3 separate regions of the Homo sapiens genome follow, and regions 1 and 3 are each linked to region 2. Evidence: promoter capture Hi-C in human tissues and cell types (Jung and others, 2019). All regions are on one chromosome and are shown on one strand. Each heading gives the region's core, a stretch centred on a gene start or on the middle of the fragment in contact. The rest is flanking DNA. Distances are from core to core; before and after follow the strand shown.

Region 1 (3,403 bases), core at 542-3,041, 100 kb before region 2:
GGTTTGCTGCACCTGTCACTTAGGTATTAAGCCCAGAATGCATTAGCTATTTTTTCTAATGCTCTCCCTCCCCCCACCCCAACCCCCAACAGGCCCCAGTATGTGTCATTCCCCTCCCTGTGTCCATGTGTTCTCATTGCCAGCTCCCACTTATAAGTGAGAACATGTGGTGTTTGGTTTTCTGTTGCTGTGTTTGTTTGCTGAGGATCACGGCTTCCAGCTCCATCCATGTCCCTACAAAGGACATGATCTCTCATTCTCATTCCTTTTTATGGCTGCATAGTATTCCATGGCGTGTATGTGCCACATTTTCTTTATCCAATCTATCGTTGATGGGCGTCTGGGTTGATTTAGGTAAGGCTCTGTCATTTTATGTGTAAAAGTAGGAGAAATTTCACAGAATAGGACTTTCAAGGAGCCGGTAATAGGAGGGCTTTGGTCAGGAACAGTCTGGACCCCACTGAGTAGAGAGGACTTGAAGGAAGATAGATCTGTGGGGAAAATTTAACTCCCAAATTAGTTAAAGGTGGATGCTGTATTTTCCTTTTTTCCTTCCTCTTTGACCCCTCATCACACATTCTTTCTTTTGATATTAAAAAGTTGTTTTAGTGCTTTGAAAATAATGTGCCTGGGGGAGCAGGGTGAATGGTGCAGTGAAGGACCTGGAATGATGGAGAATTTTTCTTAAATGTTTATTTTTAGTTGACAAATAATAATTGTGTAATTTATGGAGTACAATGTGATATTTTGATGTATGTTTGCAATGCTGGATGATTAAATCAGGCTAATTAACAAATCCATCACCACAAGTAATTTTCAGTTTTTGCTGAAAACATTTAAAGTCTTTTAGTAATTTTGAAATATACAATGCATAATTATTATAGTCACCATTCTGTGCTATATTATTTAGCCTTACAAAGGGGGGAAATCCTGTTATCTGTGACAACATGGATAAATCTAGAGGACATCATGCAGACTGAAATAAGTAATGCACAGAAAGACAAATACTGCACGATCTCACTTCTATGTGGAATCTAGAAAAGTTGAACTCATTAGAAGTAGAAAGTAGAAAGGTGGTTACCAGAGACTGGTGATGGAGTTGGGTTGGGTGAAGGGGACATGTTGACTGAAGGGTACAAAGTTTCAGTTAGACAGGAAGAATAAGCTTTAGGGATGAAAAGTTTTGATGAAATAAAGAAGGAGTGGTACTTTCTTCTCTGAAACTCTAGGAAAGACAATGGGAAATTTGGTATATCTTCAGAGGTCATTGAAATGAAAAACAAAAATATTGTCAAAACCATAAGAAATGGACCCCATCTGGTTAGAGCAGAAAGAAGGGGAGTATTCTTGATGCAGCAGAGCACTGAGTTCCCACGAAGGAAACAGCTGGGTCTTAGGAGAGCACTGGAATCAGATAGATGCTGTGAGCAAGTCTCGCTCTGGATACCTTCTCCAAGTTGTGGTTCAGGAAAGAACCTACCTCTTTGTATAGTCTCAGTCATGCATCAGGAAAGTAGGGCTAATAAAACTGTCCTCATTTGTAATTGCACTCTTCCCTTTGATTGTTTACATGACACTTGAAGTTATGTCTTATCTTTTATCCTAGCTACAATGGAAGCTCCATTAGGTACATAATTATTTATTTTTTTCATCATTGCATCCTCAATCCCCATTAGAGCCCTTTTCACATAGTTGGTGATCAATTAAAAAATACATAGAGTATGGAAAAGAGTCTCTTTTTCTGGAGCATGTTTACTGTGTTGATCTCTAATTTATTTTTTGAGCATATCTTATGCTCAATATTTGCCTTTTAATACTGGAGAAAATAAGTATTTAATAATATGTTAAAGAGATTTGATGGAAACTAAATTATAAACACTCAAAAAATGCATAAATGCATGAATTGTCTAGTCCAGAATCTTTGTTAGTAGGCTCTCAATTAATAAGAGCTCTTTCTCTACTGTCTGAGGGGATCTTGAGTGTAAGCAGGTTGAATAATATCCTTACCACTTAAAACCCCTCTCTCCTTAACAAGAATAAATTCCTTCAGATATTACCAAGGGAAATATTGTGAAGTTGGAGAAATCTGTTTTTATAACCTCAATTTCAGCCAGGGGGAAGTGCTATGGTGGGTGTTTAAGAACACAGGCTTGGTTTCAGACAGATGAGGAACTCATCTTTCTGAAACTTTTACATGAGACAGTGGAAGATCTCAATTTACCTACTGTTGAAGGATACCAACAGTAATAGAATGTCTTATATTGTATTTACCATGTGTCAATCTGTGTTCTAAGAATTTTATGAAAACTTATTTAATAGTAGCAATATTATGAGACAGGGACTATCTTCCTCATTTACAAGTAAGAAAATTGAGGCATAGACAGGTTAAGATATTTTCCAAAGATCACACAGTTGATGGGTGTTAGAGCTGGGATTACAACTCAGACTTGGTTAGTCTAAACATGAAGCTATACTTCCTTTCATAGTACTAACTCAAAGATGCACTGTGAGCCTGAAATGAACAAAGCATTTAATACGTAGCATGGTGTCTGTCAACATTAATACATAATACATATTACATTAATACATATTAACTAGTGCTTTATCATCAGTACATTCTCATATTCCTCAGAGCCTTTTCTATCTCCAAGGAAAGTGTCCCTTTTCATCTTGGTCAATTTAAAACACTTATGACTGTCTGTTTATCTTGGGCTGATGCCAAGTCCTCAGTCTAGCTGGCCTTAGTCCTGAGTGCCTGGTTACTTTGAGCACAGTAATGCTGGGACTCCAGGTGGATCCCACATTGTGGAAATTACAGCCTAGTGTCACAGGCACCCTTAGCTTGGAGCAGGGGGCTTTGACTTCCCCACTGTGATTATAGGAGAGCTACATTCCGTAAGAGACAAGTTGAAGAACCAAGAGATGAAAGTTATTCCCCTATATCCTTCCAATCCCCAGGGATTTAAGATAGATAATATAATGAGGGTTAATTTTGGATCATTCCTTGATAAATCATCTGGAGCTGAAGTTATCAAACTTGAGCATTATACAGTTACTTTAAGATGAAAAAAAAACAACAACAAACATAGAACCTGAGTTAACCTGTTTTATTTTAAAGTCAGTAGAATATATATGAACAGAAAATTCTAAGCCCTAATGAATGTATCAATATACAGATTTAACTCTAAACCTGTAATAAAGATACAAATTAAATAAAGTATTGCAGACATATTTCAAAATAAGAACACTTATTTATGGAACAGATGATGTGGTTTAAGTGAAACTAAATCAATAACGGTGGAGTTGAAAGTGAGGGTTTTAAATTTAAGTCCAGGTCTGAACCTAATCTCTTCCTGGTTTTTGACTTTGCCGATACTATAATGCACACAAATCTTTAACAAAA
Region 2 (3,040 bases), core at 507-3,006:
AAATCTGGCACTAGTAGGTGTACAACAAATATTGATTACTTTTAATCTATTTACTACAACAGAAGAGTGCTTTTAAGTTAAAGAAATGAAATAGTAAGGAATACCATAACATATATTAATTCTTTTTCTCCTATTGTTATCATTCAATATTAACCTTAGATGTACACTCACACCTTCCTTGTCATGATCCTCACAAAGTGGTAAAATAGAAAGGGAGTCGATAGGCATAAATTGACTTGTTAAGTTATTTAGCATCCTAATTCACAGTTTTCACAATTCTACCTAAAGTAACTGATGTAAGGAATAATGAGGAACATTGTGGATAGTCAATAAATGTTTCTATTCTCCTTCCTTCACCTCATCCCATGCCTGCCTTGCTGGGGTAGAATTGCTCAGCTCCAGAGCCTCATAACAAATGCCTTGTTCACTATGGCTAATATGCTGGTTTTAGAGATGTGAGGAGGAATAGTAGTTTTGCTGTTAGTAATGGTTGCCTCACTGGGGTCAGGAAAGAGGCTGAGACAGAACATCTCATTCCACAGCCTAATAAAAGAATGAAACACTCTTTTTTTTTTTTTTACATCCCTAACTCAGAGTCAACGGATAACCTTCCCCTAATATCAACATGACAGTAGTAGAATTACTGAAGTGATGGAAGACAGGGAGGGGTTGATCAAGATTAGACATCACCGTCTAGATGTCTAATCATAAAAAGAATGTTTTTCCACTGACAAAAAGTTTACCCAAAGCCTCCTTCATGTCTCTGTTCCTCAAGCTATAAATGAATGGGTTTAGCGTGGGAATAATCACCATATAGAGAACAGCAGCCCTACTTTCCCTCTCTGTAGAGTAAGTTGATGGAGGAAGTAAATACACACCCATAAGAGACCCATAGAAGAGCAGAACCACCGTGAGATGAGAACCACAGGTAGAGAAGGCCTTCCATCTCCCTCCAGGAGATGAGATGACAAACACAGCCCAGAAAATGCGGACATAGGAGAAGACGATCAGCAGGAGGGGAACAGTGAGGAACAGCAAGCCCATGGTGATGATCATCAGCTCGTTTACATGGGTATCTGAGCAGGCAAGCTTCAGGAGAGCACTAGGATCACAATAGAAATGAGGGATGGCTTTCTGGGCACAGAAAGCCACGCGGGTCAGCAACAGTGTGTGCATCAGGGCAGGACAGTTGGTTAGCACCCAGCACACACCCAGCATTAGTGCACAGAGCTGGGGACTCATAGATGTGCTGTAATGGAGTGGTTGGCAGATGGCCACATAGCGGTCATATGCCATCACAGCCAGCAGGCAGTTGTCAAGGCCACCAAACATAAGGAGGAAATATAGCTGTGCAAGACACCCAGAATACGAGATGATCTGACTCTGGGTATGAATGTTGGCCAGCATTTTGGGGATGGAGGCAGAAGTGAAACAGGCATCAGTTAATGACAGGTTGGCCAGAAAGAAGTACATGGGAGTATGGAGGTGTGGGTCAGAGCTGATGGCCAGGATAATGAGCAGGTTCCCCACCATGGTGACCAGGTACATGCCAAGGAAGATGCCAAACAGAAGAGGCTGCTCCTCTGGCCACTCAGAGAGTCCTAGAAGGAGGAAGTCTGAAACAGTGGTTTGGTTCACTCTGCCTGGTTTTCCCATCCCTTGTAGTTCGTGTGATCTGCGCAGATAAAAACCTTCCATGTGTCAGTATTTATTTATTAGATCAATTTACAGATATGCATCTGTGTGGCCAGAACTGTGCTGGGAGAAAAAGAAAAGAAAAATAAATGGTCTTTGCCAATAAGAATCTCTGAATCTCACTGGGAATGCAAGGAAATACCCAAGAGACATTTAGAGAACAGTTAAGATAATATCCATTCAAATCTCAATTGTGCTTTGTATGCTATAGCAGAATCCAAAGAAAAGAGATTTGTTTGACCAGAGAAATTGGCATGGGCTATTTAGAGGAAGTGAGAATTGAGAATAGCTTGATGGCAAGATTAGAAAAGCCATTTGTTATTGTCAATTGGAAAGAAGATGCATGATCTCCATCAAACTCCTACCCCTCCTCCAACACACACACACACACACACACACACACACACACACACACACACACACTCAAGCCCTCTTTGTGGGGGCTGAAATTGACTTTTAAGACAAGATAGCTTCCTCCCCACTTGCCTTTCAGTGCTGAGAATTTGACCTCACCCATTCAAACCAGTCCTGTACTCTTTCCTAACTAGCGGCAAAGGATATGTGAGCTGAGGGCAGTAGGTGTCTGGTGTCGTACTCCCCCATCCACTGTTAGGATGTTCCCTCCCACACACACGCATACAAATAGGACAGGGAGCCACTCTCTCCCTTCCATCACTTCCTCTCCTTTATCCCTGTCCTCTTCCCTTTTTTGCTGCTATGCATCTCTATCTGCTCTGGGAACTGATATTTTAGTTCACCTGTGCCTTCACCCCTACATTTGTACTACATTTATCTAATATTTACTTTTAACCAGAGGGAGGGAAGGTGAAAGGTATCGCCCTGACTTTTTGGTTTGAAAATAACCAGTCTGTTTTTTTGCTGCCCTAGTGAGCTGGTAGGAGAAACCATTTCATATTGATCTTGTAGAAGTTTGGCCTTAGAAGCTTTTGTAACTATTTTAGTCCTCCATTTGTTCTTTGGTTCATAGAGAAGCTTCTGACCTTAGGCAGAGACTCAGCACTTTCCCAGGAAACTTTTGCCTGGTCACCTGATCATCGAACTGGGAAGGAAGGTGTATATGTGTGTGTGTGTGAGAGAGAGAGAGAGAGAGAGAGTGTATGTGTGTGTGTGTGTGTATGTGTCCTACCCCTTCCAAATCCTCACCTGTCAGATTATGGATCAGTTTTAGGCATCTTCAAATTCTCCAATTCTCTTCCTTGGATGGATAATTCATAATAAAAAACTCTGAGACCTTTCTGACTCAGAGGCAATAAAGTCGGGGTCTATTGAGTCCAGAGTTTATTAGAAATACCTGAAGTGTATGGCTCGATTTCAGCTTCCCCGG
Region 3 (3,265 bases), core at 326-2,825, 120 kb before region 2:
AGCTGCTAGAGAAAGAGGAAAGCCTTGTGGCAGTTAGAACACAGTTTATTCTTTAAGTGAAGGGATGTGTGACTTAACCCTTGCCTGGCATGGCCATAGGTCCCATTTATAATTTGGTATCTTATTGCCACTAAGAGTCTGTTCTGTTCATCTTATGATGTCTATTTTAACAATAATGCTGATCAGTTGTTGTGTCTACATCATAAAAGAGAGGGTATATAGTGAAGCCTGTCTAACCTACCATCCTGACATGGCCAGGAACTTGGTTTTAAGGTTTTTCTGGAGTCCCGTTGGCTACCTGGGCATTCATTTAGTTGGTGGGATAGGGGGTGGTTAGGATTTTATTTTAAATTTATATTATAATTGGCAAATAAAAACGGTATACACTCGAGGTATACAATTGATGATTTGATATATACATGCATTGTGAAATGATTGTCAAAATCAAATTAATTAACACATCCATCACCACACATAGTGTGTGTGTGTTTGGTGAGGACACTTGTGATCTACTGTCTTAGTAAATTTCAAGTAAACAATATGATATTATTAACTATGTTCACCATGCTTTACTTCAGATCCCCAGAGCTTATTCACTTTATAACTGAAAGTGCATGACCTTTGACCAACATCTCCCCGTTTCCTCCACCCCCAGTCCCTGGCAACCACCACTGTGCGCTCTGTTTTTATAAGTTCAACTTTTTAAGATTTTACAGATAAGTGAGATTATAAGATATTTGTCTTCTGTATCTGGTTTATTGCACTTAGCATAATGTCTTACAAGTTCATCCATGTTGTTGCAAATGTCAGGATTTCCTTCTTTTTATGGTTGAATAATACACACACACACACACACACACACACACACACACACACACACACACACACGGAATATGCAAAATTTCCTTCTCTCTCTCTCTTTCTCTTTCTTTCTCCCTTTCTCCCTTCCTCCTTTCCTCCTCTCTTTCTCTCTCTCTCTCTCCCTTTCCTTCCTTCCTTCCTTCCTCTCTCTCTCTCTTTCTCTTTCTTTTCTTTTCTTTCTTTGTTTCCTCATCCTGTTGCCCATGCTGGAGTGCAGTGCTGCAGTCATAACTCACTGCTGCCTTCAACTCCTGGGCTCAAGCAATCTTCCCACCTCAACCTGTCAAGTTGCTAGACCTACAGGCATGTGCCACCACATCTAGCTAATTACAGAAATTTTTTTTGCAGAGATGGTGTCTTGCTATGTGGCCCAGGCTAGTCACAAACTCCTGGCCTCAAGCAATCCTCTGGCCTTGGCTTCCTAAAGTGGGGAGATTACAGATGTGAGTCAATGTGCCTAGCCACCTCGTTTTCTTTATCCCTTCATCTGTTGTTAGATACTTAGGTTGATTCTATATCTTGGCTACTGTGAACAATATTGCAATGAACATGAGGTGCAGATATCTCTTTGAAAGACTGATTTAAATTCATTTGGATATATACCCAGAAATGAGATTGCTGAATTCTATGGTAGTTAGATTGAAGGAGTTTCATTGTCTGGGGAAATACCAGACGTTTGTTGTCTCACACTAAGGAGAACAAAGTGGAAAGTTTAATAGGCATAAGAAAGAAGAGAGAGGAAGAGAGAGAAAGAGAGCTTCTTCATGCAGAGGAAGGGGGTGTCCAAGTGGATTTCCAGGTTTGGGGTAAGATGTGGTCGATTTTATAGAGGGGCTTGAGGAGTCAGTGTTTGATTTACATAGGACTCAGGGGTTTGATTTGACCAGGTGTGCCATTTACATAGCCTGTGAAGAAACAGACCGTCCCACTTTATCTTGTATTATGCAAATGGAGCCTTCACCTGGCTGGCGCCATGACACCCACACATATGGCAACAAGGAAAAGGGAAGAGGGAATTGCCATGTTGGATATACGTGGTGTCTGGCATAGCTGCTGGCATTTACCTATGCAAGTTTCCAGCTTGCTTATCTATGCTTGCAACTTGATTTTTCATGCTGCTTTTTATTAGAAAAGAAATGATTTGGGAGCTGCTATTTATTAAAGGAAAATTCCCGCTAAGTATTTTTTCACCCTCACTCACTGCCTAAATAATTTCTTTTTAACCCCTGTATCAATTGTAAGATACAATGAATTTCTCTGAGTTTCTCTTCAAAGATTTAGCCTCCCAACTTCCTTGTCCTTTGTTTTCAAACTCAACTTTCTTGTTCCTCCTTGCCCCTAGTTACTGTAAATAGCCTATCCACTTCCCGTCAGCTCTAATCAATAATGCACATCTATTCCCTTGGTTACCTGCACCCATTGTTCCCCTGAAACTGGACATCTCACATGCTTTACCACTGTACCTCATGTCCCCCTTCCCTTCCGTATTTAGAAAAATATTTGCAAGTAGCCAATTGGGTCAGCTCAGATTGTGCGGCCTGACCCCAGCCCATGGCGGAGTGACACAGAGGTAAGAACGACCATCAGAGATAAAAACTCACTGCTCTCCTTTGTTCCCTGTGCTCTTGCGATCTTGATTGACACAAGTGGCACTCTTCTGCAGAAGTGAATTGCCTTGCTGAGACAACTTTTGCCTAAGTGTTGGTTTCACTTTGTGGCACAAAGCATTTTTTCCTAGAGCATTTTTATATCCAACACAATAATTTCAGTTTTTTGGCTGGGTGCAGTGGCTCACACCTGTAATCCCAGCACTCTTGGGGGGCCAAGGCGGGCAGATCATGAGGTCAGGAGTTAGAGACCAGCCCGGCCAATATGGTGAAACCCCGCCTCTACTAAAAGTACAAAAATCAGCCGAGTGTGATGGTGCACACCTGTAGTCCCAGCTACTTGGCAGGCTGAGGCAGAAGAATTGCTTCAACCAGGGAGGCAGAGTTTGCAGTGAGCCGCCGAGATAGCACCACTGCACTCCAGCCTGGGCGACAGAGTGAGACTCTGTCGCAAAAAATAGTAATAGTAATAATAATTTCAGTTTTTTGAGGAGCCCCCATACTGTTGTCCATAACGGCTGTGTTAATCTACATTCTTACAGTGTGTAACTGTTCCCTTTTCTTTACATCTTTGCAATCGTTATCTTTATACTTTTTGCTAACAGCCATTCTAACAGGTGTGAAGTAATATCTCATTGTGGTTTTAATTTACATTTCTCTGATGATTAGTAATGTTGGGCATTTAAAAATATACCTGTTGGCCATTTGTATATCTTCTTTTGAGAAATGTCTATTCAGGTCCTTTGCTTACCTTAAAACCAAATTATTTGCCTTCATACTATTGAATGTTTGAGTTC

The links. Contacts are between HindIII fragments. The study calls those that stand out against the background at their distance.
Region 1: a fragment that was not itself captured here is called in contact with the fragment with the promoter of OR1N2 in region 2 in 5 of the 25 tissues and cell types used here (dorsolateral prefrontal cortex, heart left ventricle, mesenchymal stem cells and 2 more).
Region 3: a contact is called between a fragment that was not itself captured here and the fragment with the promoter of OR1N2 in region 2, in 5 of the 25 tissues and cell types used here (heart left ventricle, liver, mesenchymal stem cells and 2 more).

What each region holds. Positions count from the first base shown.
Region 1 is chr9:122,652,371-122,655,773 of GRCh38, reverse strand. All of the region lies in intron 1 of OR1B1 (olfactory receptor family 1 subfamily B member 1), which reads left to right. Among named protein-coding and RNA genes, the nearest start is that of OR1B1, 3.6 kb to the left of the region's middle. The HindIII fragment of the contact is 8,888 bases long and covers 1-3,403 here.
Region 2 is chr9:122,551,828-122,554,867 of GRCh38, reverse strand. It overlaps OR1N2 (olfactory receptor family 1 subfamily N member 2), which reads right to left and starts at 1,756. Exons shown (of 1, transcript NM_001004457.2): 1 at 654-1,756. The coding sequence starts at 1,656. The coding sequence ends at 706. It also overlaps a transcript of OR1J2 not described here and a transcript of OR1L8 not described here. The HindIII fragment of the contact is 3,656 bases long and covers 473-3,040 here.
Region 3 is chr9:122,668,592-122,671,856 of GRCh38, reverse strand. No RefSeq gene overlaps it. Among named protein-coding and RNA genes, the nearest start is that of OR1L3, 4.9 kb to the left of the region's middle. The HindIII fragment of the contact is 7,685 bases long and covers 1-3,265 here.